3 separate regions of the Homo sapiens genome follow, and regions 2 and 3 are each linked to region 1. Evidence: promoter capture Hi-C in human tissues and cell types (Jung and others, 2019). All regions are on one chromosome and are shown on one strand. Each heading gives the region's core, a stretch centred on a gene start or on the middle of the fragment in contact. The rest is flanking DNA. Distances are from core to core; before and after follow the strand shown.

What was found. Contacts are between HindIII fragments. The study calls those that stand out against the background at their distance.
Region 2: a fragment that was not itself captured here is called in contact with the fragment with the promoter of MALSU1 in region 1 in 2 of the 25 tissues and cell types used here (IMR-90 fibroblasts and dorsolateral prefrontal cortex).
Region 3: a fragment that was not itself captured here is called in contact with the fragment with the promoter of MALSU1 in region 1 in 1 of the 25 tissues and cell types used here (pancreas).

What each region holds. Positions count from the first base shown.
Region 1 is chr7:23,296,821-23,301,698 of GRCh38, reverse strand. MALSU1 (mitochondrial assembly of ribosomal large subunit 1) reads right to left here and starts at 2,360. Exons shown (of 4, transcript NM_138446.2): 1 at 2,091-2,360; 2 at 682-860. The coding sequence starts at 2,346. RefSeq lists an enhancer at 2,054-2,543. The HindIII fragment of the contact is 12,532 bases long and covers 1-4,878 here.
Region 2 is chr7:23,523,585-23,528,462 of GRCh38, reverse strand. The region is part of intron 1 of TRA2A (transformer 2 alpha homolog); the gene reads left to right. Among named protein-coding and RNA genes, the nearest start is that of TRA2A, 6.0 kb to the left of the region's middle. The HindIII fragment of the contact is 5,751 bases long and covers 1-4,878 here.
Region 3 is chr7:23,438,171-23,443,048 of GRCh38, reverse strand. The region is part of intron 2 of IGF2BP3 (insulin like growth factor 2 mRNA binding protein 3); the gene reads left to right. Among named protein-coding and RNA genes, the nearest start is that of IGF2BP3, 30 kb to the left of the region's middle. The HindIII fragment of the contact is 4,095 bases long and covers 128-4,222 here.

The DNA of each region.
Region 1 (4,878 bases), core at 1,111-3,610:
ACGCCCGGCTGAATTTATATTTTAATTTATAATTAAATAGGCACATGTAGCTAGTGGCTACCGTAATGGATAGTGCCTCTAGAAATCCCTCTGGTTATACTGTCTTCTAGCTTGCCTCAGGTTATAAAATATTATTTTCCGGCCGGGTGAGGTGGCTCATGCCAGTAATCCTAGCACTTTAGGAGGCTGAGGCAGGCGGATCCCCTGAGGTCAGGAGTTTGAGACCAGCCTGACCAACATGGAGAAACCCGTCTCTACTAAAAATACAAAATTATCTGGGCCTGGTGGCGCATGCCTGTAATCCCAGCTACTCAGGAGGATGAGGCAGGAGAATCACTTAAACCCGGGAGGCGGAGGTTGCGGTGAGCAGAGATCGCGCCATTGCACTCCAGCCTGGGCAACAAGAGCAAAACTCCATCTCAATTAGAAAAAAAAAAAAAATCTTCCTTGCGGTCACAAGAGAAAAGATTTTGATATATCCTAACTCAATAGGGCTGGATATTTGCTCCCATATGTTTCACTATCAAAGAACATAAAATGAATTCATGCAAATTCTGAAAATTTGGGCTTCTTCTGTAACTTTGTATGATGGGTTTACCCTCTAAGTGTTGCTCCTTGGCCTGATGCACTGTCACTATTCCACTCAGTTAATGGTCCAAAAGAGAAAAGAAAGCATCCTACCATTTTCACAACGTAGAAGGCCATGGCATGTAAGTGTCGGGTAGAAGTTCCACTAACAATCACAAAGTAATCTGTATATCTCATTTCTGGAGGAACCTGGATCACACAAATGTCTCTTGCATTTTCTTGCCTCAGAAGTGAAACCATCATATCGATGTCAAACTTGGGACCAGTATGATCTGAAATGCACAAATAGTTGTTTGTATCAGGATGGCCAAGCAGATAGACGTGTATGCACCCAGAGATGCCGGCAGCTGACTGTTCCTCCATGAGGGTGTTTAGATCCAAAGTGTTTTTACAGATAGCAGGGTAAAGGCCTCCTGGAAGGTGAACCTGGGCAGTAGTATCATAGCACCGCTCAACTTTTATGGTCAGGGTGCTCAGATTACGCAGAGCCACTATACATCCTTCGCTATTAACCATATGCAAGTAGAACCAGACACCAGTGACAAATGACTTTCTACTAATACTTAAAAGGAGCAATACACCACAATCACAGAAATGCTGTGCAAAGAAAAACAGCACCACAAAATGGGTAGGAGGTGATATCCTGGAGCATATTAAATTGAATCTCAGTCATAACGGGTCACAGAATTGTGAGCTGGAAGGGCTCTTAGGCAGTATCTGGTCCACAACCTTCAGTTGAGAGATGAAGAAACTGAGGCCTAGGAGAATTACTGTGGCCTAAGATCAGTCACTGAAAGAGCTACATTTTTGAGTAATTATTATTTTGAACCTTCCAGTTTTCATATAAAACCACCGGGTTATTAACAACTGTTACCTATGAAAATCTAATTTTTTTTCCCGTAAAGATTTAGATATTCTGATCTTCAGCTTGGAGTATTACAGGCTGTAAATTTAAAAGCTCGCCCAAGTTCTAAAGCCGACTCCAAAGGACCTAGTAGCTAAGCCCACTAAGGCCTCTCCCTCTCATACTCTACATTCTTAGATGTGATCTGTTTACCATTCTTAAGTTTCTAAAAACGTCAGCAATAACTAGAGGATATTAACTTGGACCCATCTCCTACTGGCGCTTCCTACGCACCCCTTCGCACCCAGACCCTGGCTCCTCAGAATCCTCAAGCCCCAACAGTCCCCACAAACCCATTTCCCAGGATCCTAGGAAGAGGGTAAAAGGAAGTGAGGACGGTGAGACTGTGATGCCAAGGGTGGGAGATGGCCGTCCGGGAGGCTGGGATTCTGCAGTTCATCTCTTGCCCTCAATTTCTTCACTGTGAAACGGGAAGGTTGGCGCCAACAACCTTTGAAGTCCCTTCCAGCTCTGGATGTGCAGGAGTTTTGTGACTCCAAGAGAAATGCACATAGAGGGGAACCCAGAGCCACCTTGGCTGGGACCTGACTCCAGACTGCCCGGAGAGGGTCGCCTTCGTTCTTCTCCACGCCCGTACCTGCCGCGTCCGATTCTGGGCGTCCCTCGTTGACCGTCCCCTCCGCCCGCTCCTCCAGCCCAGGCTCGCTGTGCAGGCCGCGGACAAAGTTTGGGGTCTGGCAAGCCCGGCAGAACGCTGCTCCTACGGGAAGCCGCTGCACGGCCAGCAGCCGAAGCCCGGGCTCGGCTCCAACCGCGGACCCCGCCACCGAGGAAACCGCCCTGCGCCACATTAGTGGGGCGAGCAGCCGCGCCACACGGCCGCCCGGCCCCATAGCAGCAGCCTTGCGTCGGCGTCGCGGGTGGGTGGTACTTCATGGAGCCCGGCCGGGAAATTCTACGTCGATGCGTGGGCGGAGTCAAGGCCTGAAGGACGGACCATGGGCGGAGTCTGGAGCCCGTGAAGACTGCAGTGACCCGGAAGAGCTACTTGGGGATTAGGGCGTGCGGGAATAAAGAACTAGTGTTGCTTGCCCACCTTGCTTTGCTTTGTGTCGCAGTAGCGCATTACGTTGTCACTTTTTTTTTGGACTCTGTCCACTAATGTGAGGCTCATGAAGGCAATAATTTTTGTTTCATTTTTAACTCTTCTCTCCACAGCACCTAAAACAGTTCCTGGTACTGAATGTCCAGAAGTTGCTGTTAATCTGATTAGGCTGGGATTAGGACATATAATCTACCCTCTCTCATTACCAGAAAATATTCAAGATTCCCTTGCAAATTTGAAATTGCGCGAGGAAAATCTGTTATCCTGGGCTAGAGTGGGGTGGGAGGCAGAGGTGTAAAGGACCATTTGGAAACCGTTCTTAGGTCAGCCCATCATCTACACTCCCTGTATGGAGGAGTTTACGCCCAGGGGCGGTACTGTGGGGACCAGCTCTGTAAGAATAAGGAATTCTGAGGTGCCAGCTGCGGTATTAAGTCACAGGACTTGAGAACTGCGATAGATTCCTGGCACGGGTGGGGGGGTGGGGGGTTTTGGGGGCGTGGGACGCCGCAGGGAAGCAACTTGCCCAGGTCATACACTTACTGACTGCGTCAGAATCAGAAGCCAGTTTCTGGCTTCTGAACTCCAGGCCTGCTAACTGCTGAAAGGAAGGCTTCATAGAGAGCAAATATTTCAAATGCCTGAAACAGTGCCAGACACATAGCAGGCACTCCAAAAATGTTTGCTACATTATTTTAAATAATTCCAAGCACTAATTTTGGGAAGTTTTTTAAAAATAGAGAAATTAAGCATTTGTGTATATCACACCAGATATGTACAACCACTTCAAGTTATTTTTGAAAAGAAGAAAAACATTACAGATTAAGTTTCCTCTGTCCAATTTTAGCCCCATCCTCAATTCCATTTTTCCACAGGCATGAACTTGGCTTTTCTCCCAGCTTCTGGCATCCATTCCGTGTTCCCACCCTTCTCTGAACATCCCAGACCTGCTTTACCACCTGTATTTGCCAGCTCATTTAATGGGTCATTATCCCTTCAAAACTCCCAAACCCTAGACTTCATTCAGTCCAGGATCTTCATACAACAAACGAATCTGTTGTCAAAATCCTGCTTATGTGACCTCCAAAATGTTTCTGTGAGTTCAGCTTCTTGTCTTCATTTCCACTGTTTCTTCCTTAGTCCACACCCTCATTAGTTCTTGCCTAATTACAGAGACTGCCTCCTACCTGGCTTTCCTGTCTCCAGTCTGTTTCTACTCTTTTCATCCTCCATGCTGCCCTTCTATCAACTACAATCATTTTCGCTTTATCTGCTTTTTGCTGTTTTTCAAACTCACCATACCCTTTTTTATTTTTATTTTTTAAAGAGATGGGGTCTTACTCTTGTCACCCAGACTGGAGTACAGTCACACAATCATAGCTAACTACATCCTCAAACTCCTGGGCTCAAGCGGTGCTCCTGCCTTAGCCTCCCAATTAGCTAGGACTACAGGCATGTGGAACCATGGCCAGCTAATTTTTGTTTTTAATTTTTTTAAAGACAGGATCTCACTATGTTGCCCAGGCTGGTTTCAAACTCCTGGCCTTAAGCAATCTACCCCACTGTAGCTGTGAGTATAGGCATAAGCCACCATGCCTGGCAACCTCACCATATCCTTTCAATGCCAAGCTTTGCATATACTTTTTTTTTGAGATGGAGTCTCGCTCTGTCACCCAGACTGGAGTGCAGTGGCACCATCTCGGTTCACCACAACCTTTGCCTCCAGGGTTCAAGCAATTCTCCTGCCTCGGCCTCCCAAATAGCTGGGATTACAGGCACGTGCCACCACCCCCAGCTAATTTTTGTATTTTTAGTAGAGACGGGGTTTCACCATGTTGGCCAGGCTGGTCTCAAACTCCTGACCTCAAGTGATCCACCCGCCTCAGCCTCCCAAAGTGTTGGGATTACGGGTGTGAGCCACCGTGCTTGGCCACTACTCTTTTTAGAGCACCCTTTTCCCATTTTTTCATATGACAAACTCAGACTCACTCTGTAAGACATACCTTAAGCATTAAGATATCTCCCCCTACTCTCTCAGATGGCCCCTCAGAAACCCCTCATCCCTTTGTTCATAAATGTCTTTAACATTTATGTTTGACTGCATGATACCCCACTAGAAAAGACTTAGATTTAATTCCACCTCTTCTGTTTATTAGCAGTGTACTATTGAAGTTCTTAATCTGAGCCTCAGTTTCCTCATCTGTAAAATGAGGGAATGATACCTTCTTCACAGAGTCTCGAAAAATTGGATAAAATATGCAGCACAAATTATATACCATAGTGCTTGGCATGTAGTAATCATATGGAAATTAGTATCTGT
Region 2 (4,878 bases), core at 1,260-3,759, 230 kb before region 1:
AGGCTGAGGCGGGCGGATCACAAGGTCAAGAGATGGAGACCATCCTGGCCAATATGGTGAAATACAGTCTCTACTAAAAATACAAAAATTAGCTGGGCGTGGTGGCGCGCGTCTGTAGTCCCAGCTACTCGGGAGGGTGAGGCAGAGAATCACTTGAACCCGGGAGGCGGAGGTTGCAGTGAGCCGAGGTCGGCCACTGCACTCCAGCCTGGCAATAGAGCGAGACTCGTCTCAAAAACAAAACAAAAAAAAACACAGAACTTTTAAATTGGGCTTAAAATTTTTTTGTGTATGAAGTTTTAAGATAAATGTGAGAGATGTCATAGCATTTTGCTTATTCAGCGTCTTTAGCAATTTAATTCCATATATCATCAAATTGACCTTACATAAGGGTAAAGCTTTCTTTCTTATAGTAGGGATAGTGTTAACCTAAGAGAGTCTTGGGTTTAATCTATTTTCCTAAATTTAAGTACTATCATTTATCTGATTTTAATGCTTTCAGTTGTTCTCCTCTCCCCTTCCATTTAAGCAAAGAATTTGTAAACTTAAAAAAAATTAAAATCTCAAATTTTTATATTTGAGGTTCTTTCACTGAAGGATGTTGATCTGCTCAATATAAGTAGAGGGCAAGATTTTGAAAAGGAGCAGTGCAAGTAATTATACCCACAGCGCATAACTAATTTTACAGATCTGTCATAGAGGCTTATACTTTGTACCACTCATTAAATGGAATATAGAACCTTGAGATCTGAAAGAATGTCCAGGGATTTAAATATTTAGGGATGTGTGGTTTGGAAAACACTTTGTCTGTGGGCTTAATTTTGTAAATCAACCAAACTCTAACCTACGATGTAGCATGTGTATTATAAGAAGTGTGAAATGTCATCAATAATCAGCATAGTAGTTTCCTAGAACTTGACTGGCAGAAAACTTTCTTTGATAGTATCAGTGGGTGCTCACCCATTAGATAACTAAAAGATGTGTATTCACGTGCTAATGAATTAAAACTGATTGCTATTTGTTCATATGTCCTCACAAATTTAGCAAGACAGGCATGGAGGTGAAAAAAATAGTAACAACTAGATGAGGGAAAGATTGTATACACTGAAGAAAAGTTGAGAGGAGAATACTAAAGGGAAATATGGTTTCCCTTCCCTCCTTTTAAGTTACTTATATATATAGTTATATATAATCCTTACTGTCCCATGACTTTCACCAAAGATGGAGTGACTAGGCCTGACTGATATGTAGAAGAAAAGTTGTGATCTTTCCTTGAAACCAGGACCCTATCATCTGACTTACCAAGATTCATAAATACTGTATAACTCCAGAAGATTAGAACATAATGTTAAATCACATTAGTCCTTACAAACTTGTTTTTTCTACCTTTGAAATTGCCACTTATACATTAGTTTTTTGAACATTACAATTGATCAGGATATATAAGCTATGAGACTTATGAACCACGTTTAAAATTTGTACAAAAGATTATAAATTTTACAGGTGATTTCACAATTATGGCATGAGTTTAAATTTGATTATATGTGGGTGTCAGTTACTAAATCATGTATTTATGATAAGACTTCTAAATTTTAGAGAATAAGGAAACATACAGAATTAGAATATGTTTGAGTCTTTGCAGATAAAGACCACATTGACTTCAGAATGCAGCATATAGGCATGCTGCATTTAAAAGAAGGGAAATTATTATTTCAATTTAATATGAGCAGTCGCTATCTTCTTTTTAAGGGATTTGTTCTAATAGCAGTTACGGTTTAAGAAGATAATGGAAGTGTTGCTTTAACTTCATAGGGGTCTGTAAGAGTATTCTCCCATACTCAAGGGGAAGGAAGCAGAACTGTTGTTCTTTCTATAGGCTGAGGTTGAGTAAATACAGGTTTTTTACAACTCCTAAAGAAGTTCTTTAGTAAGTAGTAAAATGAATATTGTAAGGTATTTGAATAATTTCGGTACATTTCCCTTCTTTTTGGGTACTTGTGATTTTCCTCAATGCACTAGTGTGTATCTATGGAAATAGAGCGCCAGTGTCATAAAGTAGCAGGAAAATACATTTTTAGTAAGTCTGTTTTACAAGCTTATACTCATAGACTTGGACTTGAGTAAATTTGGCCCTATTAAATGGCATAGAATTTGCCTGGCCTTAATGTTAGAGTAAGTTACAGTATAGCATTTAATAGTTTATTTATTTTAATGGATAGCACATATATATATTGTGTTGGAATTTCTTTTTATAGTATGACACAGGCTATATTAAAAGACTGCAGTTATTGCTTGCTGTAGGAATTGTTCATGTTCCGCAACATTGTGTACATGTATATAATAACCCTTTTCCTGATTAAAAGAATAGTACATGGTTATTGTGGTTATTCACAGTGTGTAAAATACAACTCTATTTTAACACAGAAAGACAATTCTTAACCAGCTTGTATTGGTTACACTATAACACTTTCTTAGTGTTTTAGTTAGTTCCCTCCTTTTAATTTTTGGCCATTTCCTTCAACCAACAGCAGGGTCATCTTGATAATAAAGAATAGTTTAAACAAGCAGGCCGGGTGCAGTGGCTCATGCCTGTAATCCCAGCACTTTGCGAGGCTGAGGCGGGTGGATCACTTGAGGTCAGGAGTTCGAGGCCAGCCTGGCCAATGTGGTGAAACCCCGTCTCTACTAAAATAAAATACAAAAGTTAGCCAGGTGCGATGGCGGGTGCCTGTAATCCCAGCTACCCAGGAAGCTGAGGCAGAATTGCTTGAACCCAGGAGTTGGAGGTTGCAATGAGAAGATTGTGCCACTGCACTCCAGCCTGGGTGACAGAAAAACCAAACAAGCAAATAAACATCAAAACAAAAACCTGTTAAAGCAGGTTGTGCTGTGAGAAGAACTTTTCTGCCTGGCTTCTGCTTTATAGCCTATAAGATAGACTGGAGGCCTATTTAAGACTTTTGTTAAAATTCATGATACGAGTTGAGTTATTAATCTGCCCATTTAAACCGGGCAGTGTATTTTTAATGGTTATTGGATGCAGGAGCCAGATTACTGAGGAAATGGTAGGATTCCTTGACTGGACAGCTTTAAGAACAAGTAGTCTAGTGAAACAGGGCAGATACCACCCATTCCCAGCAATCTTTTTTGTTTGCAATTTCAATTCATTTTCCAAATTGTGGATAGTTTTATGAATTTCTTTGAGAAAAAGTTGAAATTATTTCATAATGAAGACGAGTCAGAGAGAAAAGGATTAGCCTAGCATTTGTCCTCTTTATATAAAGGACTTCTTATAGCCTGATTCCTAATGCAGAGTTCAGTGAAAGTGACATTTATTTGGTAACAGCTTTTGAGAAATGTTACTTTATTTCTAAATAATTATATACTTGGCAGTTTATTCTTCCAGTTAAGTTTACTAATAGTTACTGATTTGTTAATATAAGTTTGTAAGTTGTTTTTGAAAGTTAAAATGAAGCTGGGTGTGGTGGCTCACACCTGTAATCCCAGCGCTTTGGGAGGCCAAGGCGGGCAGATCAAGGAGTCAGGAGATGGAGACCAGCCTGGCCAACATAGGGAAACCCTATCTCTACTAAAAACACAAAAATTAGCTGGGTGTGATGGCGTGCACCTGTAAGCTGAGCTACTCAGGAGGCTAAGGCAGGAGAATCGCTTGAATCCGGGAGGCGGAGGTTGCAGTGAGCTGAGATCAGGTGCCACTGTACTCCAGCCTGAGCTACAGAGCAAGACTCCATCTCAAAAAAAAAAAAAATAGTTAAAATCATAGTGACAACTTTGTAGCTAGGAGTTAGAGACAGCTAAGAGGACTGTTTTTAGCTTAGATGTTTCCATGAAGAAATTTGTGCAGACTGAGATTTCCTCTGAGATAAAAAGAAAGAAGGGCAGACAACAAAGGAGGTTAGGTATTTGTGACACCTTTGATAATAAAAAGCAAAGCTTCTTTTAAAATAAATCTGATGTTGGCCGGGCGCGGTGGCTCACACCTGTAATCCCAGCACTTTGGGAGGCTGAGGCGGGCAGATCACTAGAGGTCAGGAGTTTGAGACCAGCCTGGCCAACATGGGAAAACCCCATCTCTATTAAAAATACAAAAATTAGCCAGGCAAGGTGGTGCATGCCTGTAATCCCAGCTGCTCAGGAGGCTGAGGCAGGAGAATCACTTGAACCCAGGAGGTGGAGGTTGCAGTGAGCCTAGATCGCACCATTACACTCCAGCCTGGGTGACAGAATGAGACTCCTCCTTCTTAAAATAAATAAGCTAACATCTCTTAAAAAGACATTCTATCATACCATAATGCTTTGTTGCTACTCCAAAACTGGGATTTAAAATTGGAATTTTAAGATGTTACTGAATTATCTTGTTTACTTTAATAAAAGGTTTTTATTTCCATCCTAGTAAAATTAAAGAATTGTAGTGTTTTACAGAGCAAAGCCTCCTGTGTATGTTTGAGAAGGACTGTAGCAGCGTTCGTAGATAATAATCCAGCTATTGCTATTCAACAGTAGCATAAATGAATGTTATGTCACAGGGTCTGTTTTGTGGAAAGGAAAGCCAAAAGAGAAGAGGGGAAGATACTCTTATGAGTTTGATTAATGAACCAGTCTGTGAAACTTAAATTACAAGCAAATTAGCCATGCCTTTTTTTATAAGATACTGAATATGCTGCTTTCATAGTTTCAGTGAATGAAAAAGCCCAGATTGCTATGCCTGCTCCAGACATCTGTTGAGTGGTTTAGAGTATCTGAGATGCAGTGAAAGACTTGTAGGTAGCTAAATGGGAAAGGTTGGTATTGAGCTGAAAGGTAGCTGTGTATTTCAGTTTTGTTTTTATCTGAAAGAAAATGACCAGGTGGCATTTG
Region 3 (4,878 bases), core at 926-3,425, 140 kb before region 1:
GGACGATTTGTGTTTCAGTATTAATATTTAACTTTTTCAAAATAAGTTTAATAACAGTATAATTTAAGATACTGAAATTTCACTAAACTGCTTCCAAATGGTTTGATTAAACATAAAATTCTAGTTACCTGGTTTTATGGTACATTTTAATTTGGTTTACATACTGCCACCATAAATCTCTGAATTTATCAAAGGACTAGATGGACATTTTAGTAAAATAACATCAAAACATGTAAAATGAATATTTATAAATTAAAATTGAAACTGTAACTCCTTAAAATCTAGAGATTGGTATATGCAAAGTCTGATTATAATATGTTATTTCTTGTTATTTTAAAAATGAAAAAAACAGACTGGGCTCGGTAGCTCAAGCCTGTAATCCCAGCCCTTTGGGAGGCTGAGGTGGGTGGGTCACCTGAGGTCAGGAGTTCGAGACCAGCCTGACCAACATGGCGAAACCCTGTCTCTACTGAAAATACAAAAATTAGCTGGGCGTGGTAGTGGGTGCCTGTAATCCCAGCTACTCCAGAGGCTGAGGCAGGAGGATTGCTTGAACCCGGGCGACGGTGGTTGCACTGAGCTCAGATCAGGCCACTGTACTCCAGCCTGGGTGACAGAGCAAGTCTCCATCTAAAAAAAACAAAACAAAAATGGAATGTTATTCTATGTTATTGACCTTGCATAAAACCTAAGATGACATTAATCCGTTACACAACTGATAAATCTGCCTTAAGGGATTACATTTTAATGTTGTTGATGTTTGCAGTTTGATTTCCATTGCTTACTTGAAATTTCATTTTCTTTCAACTTATGTTTTGAGCCCTGCCAATGACAACCATTATGCCTAGGTGCTAGGGAGACAGAAAAGCATTAATTTACAATTTTGAAAGAGAAAAATTAACTTTTTAAAAAAATTTTCTTGAGACAGAGTTTCACTCTTGTTGCCCAGGCTGGAGTGCAATGGCATGATCTTGGCTGACTGCAGCCTCTGCCTCCCAGGTTCAAGTGATTCTCATGCCTCAGCCTCCCGAGTAGGTGGGATTACAGGCATGCACCACCACACCCGGCTAATTTTTTTGTATTTTTAGTAGAGACGGGGTTTCTCCTTGTTGGCCAGGCTGGTCTCAAACTCACGACCTCAGGTGATCCGCCCGCCTCTGCCTCCCAAAGTGCTGGGATTAAAGGCATGAGCCACCCCGCCCAGCCAGAATAATTAACATTTTATAGTAATCTTATTCAATTTATAAACAGATTTATGTGAATGATACAAGTATAATATTTTTAACCACTGTCATAATTGGCAGTCACTTTAAATGCTTAGCTGGACTGAGTTTTCACACTCTCTGAGTAGGTAATTTGCAATTTCTGGTAGAGGTGGGAGCAGTTAAGGTTCTGCAAGTCTTTTTTTTTTTCCCTAAATCTACAGAATTTTAACATATGTGTCTTTTTTTTTTTTTTTTTTTTTTTTTTTTTTAAGAGATGGAGTCTCACTCTTGTCCCCAGGCTGGAGTGCAGTGGCACGATCTCAGCTCACTGCAACCTCGGCCTCCCGGGTTCAAGCGATTCTCCTGCCTCAGCCTCCCAAGTAGCTGGAACTACAGGCGTGCACCACCAAGCCCAGCTAATTTTTGTATTTTTAGTAGAGATGGGGTTTCACCATGTTGGCCAGGATGGTCTCGATCTCTTGACCTCATGATCCGTCCACCTCGGCCTCCCAAAGTGCTGGGATTACAGGTGTGAACCACCGTGCCTGGTCTTAACATATGTGTCTTTATTTTTTGCAGAGATGTGATCTCACTATATTGCCCAGGCTGGTCTTGAACTCCTGGCCTCAAGCGATCCTTCCACCTTAAGATGTGTGTCTTGTTAGAAGTAAATCAGATCTGGTGGTTTTGATGCTATTTATTCAGTCTCATAACTGTCATGACTCTGAATATATAGGCTCTTGAAATGGTAGACCAAAAAATACTTCAAGTATATTATTTGCTATTCTTTTCTGCTTGTAGGATTCTGCAACTAATTTTTAAGTTATTTATGTGTGTAAAGCCTTCCCAAGTCCCAGGATACCTAAAGTTGTAAACATAGGGGTAAATAACTATTTAAATGATGTCTGATAGATAAATCTATAGAGAAGGGATTCAGAATCCCAAATGCTTGCAACTGATATTGTATTCTTATGTTCAAGGTTTAATCGTCAGTAGAGTAGGCTTAAATTTGTTTATGTATATGATGTGGGACCTCTTAGAAAAAAGCTAAAACTTTGACTTAGGTCCTTCTATAGCCCTAGTAGAGCCTGCGTAAAAATAAAAATGACCTGATATGTGGACAGGTGGCTGGTGGTTAGGGGTTGTTGGAGTCCTGGTGTGCCGCTCCCCCAATAGACAGTATGTCGGGATAGCTTATGTTTGCACTTGATTCTACTAGTCTGTTTCAGGCAGTTGTTAAAGTACTTGGCTGTGTAACACATTCTTAAAGCTTACGCATTTCCAAAACACTGATTTCAACATTTTTACAAGGTGTTAAGGCCCATCCCACTAAAGTGTAATACCCTATACAGATTGTTAATAACAGATTTAGTTTATGATGATTTTTCAAATTATAAAGCTTTGTTTTGAAACAGAGTCTCTCTCTGTTGCCCAGGCTGGAGTGCAGTGGCACGATCTCGGCTCACTGCAACCTCTGCCTCCTGGGTTGAAGTGATTCTCCTGTCTTGGCCTCTGCAGTAACTGGGATTAAGGGCACGTGCCACCATGCCCAGCTAATTTTTTTTTTTTTTTTTGAAATAACTAAACAATTTCTGCTCTGTTGTCCAGGCTGGAGTGCAGTGGCACGATCTTGGCTCACTGCAACCTCTGCCTCCTGGGTTCCAGTGATTCTCCTGCCTCAGCCTCCCGAGTAGCTGGGACTGCAGGCGCGTGCCACCACACCCAGCTAATTTTTTGTATTTTTAGTAGAGACGGGGTTTCACCGTATTAGCCAGGATGGTCTCGATCTCCTGACCTCGTGATCTGCCCACCTCGGCCTCCCAAAGTGCTGTGATTACAGGTGTGAGCCACCTCCCTCAACTAATTGTAAAGCTTTCAAAAAAGAGATAGAAGGTTTGGCAGAGAGGAAAGGGCCATTGTAAATTTTTGTGGTTCTGTTACAGAGAAAGCCCGAGGGCAGGTAGATGTGCTCTAGGTACTGTTGAGTGTGAGTACTATGCAAAGGTGAGAGCCATTTGTTTCTATCTTTGGTGCTTGGTGCTCCCACCCACCTCAGTTTCTTTGTTTATGTTAAATGTTTTGACCAATTATATCAACACTGGAAAGGAGACCAAGAGTTTTTCTTCCTTTGAGAGACTTGTATCCTCTGTGAGATTGGTTGGTTACGTGTTAAACTCATAGGGGTAGTGTGTGTTGTGTAATCACACTGATTATAAGCATGATATCACAACCTACATTATCATAAGGGACAGAGTTTAAACATGTCTTTTTTTTTTTTTTTTTTTTTTTGAGACGGAGTCTCGTTGTCTCCCAGGCTGGAGTGCAGTGGCACGATCTTGGCTCACTGCAAGCTCCGCCCCCTACTCACGCCATTCTCCTGCCTCAGCCTCCCAAGTAGCTGGGACTACAGGCGCCCGCCACCACACCCGGCTAATTTTTTTTTTTTTGTATTTTTAGTAGGTGGGGTTTCACCGTGTTAGCCAGGATGGTCTTGAGATCTCCTGACTTCATGATCTGCCCACCTCGGCGTCCCAAAGTGCTGGGATTACAGGCGTGAGCCACCGTGCCCGGCCAAACATGTCACTTTTTATTTTATTTTTTATTTTGAGGCAAGGTCTCTGTCCCCAGCCCGGAGTGCAATGGTGGTATCATAGCTCATTGCAGCCTCAAACTCCTGGGCTTAAGGGATTCTTTTGCCTCAGCCTTCGAGTAGCTAGGGCTTACAGGTACATGTCACTGTGCCCAGCTAGTTTTAAAAATTTTTGTTGAGATGAGGTCTCACTTCGTTGCCCAGGCTGGTCTTTAGCTCCTGGACTGAAGTGATTCTACTTCAGCCTCCCAAAATGTTAGGATTACAGGTGTCAGCCACCATGCCTGGCCTATAAACATGTAACTTTTTAAATTGAAATTGAAAAATATGTAACATTTTTAACAACTATAATGGTGGAAAGTAGAATCGTTAAATTTTTTTTAGCATCTCAGTCTTATGAGTTTATTAAGTAGATTTTACATTATTGCTACTGGAAATCTGTCATCTTTTCTGAGAAAGTAATTTAACTGGAAGTGTGACATAGTTACTGAAGTTTTAAAGGACCACAACTAGGGTTATTATAACTAAATTTATTTAACTAAATTTTTAAAGATTATTTTATCAGCCTAACAACCATTATAAGCGTGTGGGGTCCTTGAAATGACTTCCCAGTAGAAAGGAATTAAAAAATTTTTTAAAAATAGAGTCGGTCTCACTGTGTTGCCCAGGCTGGTCAAAGGGAACTTCTTGAAACATCATATGCATTGGATCTTTTGTCAGTTAGTGTACTTATTTGTCTCATTTACCTTAGATGGTGACTGAGGTTGGATATTTGCCTTGAAATGATCTATGTTGATGTGACCTTGAGTCTTCTTTATAAAATTTGTATGTGGCCCAGTGTAGTGGCTTGGTGGTTCATGCCTGTAATTCCAGCACTTTGGGAATGCCAAGGGGGGCAGATTACTTAAGCTCAGGAATTCAAGACCAGCCTGGCTAACATGGAGAAACCTCGTCTTTACGAAAAATACAAAAATTAGCCAGGCATGGTGGTGGGTGCCTGTAATCTCTTGGGAGACTGAGACAGGAGAATTACTTGAACCTGGGAGGTGGAGGTTGCAGTGAGCCGAGATCGTGGCACTGCAC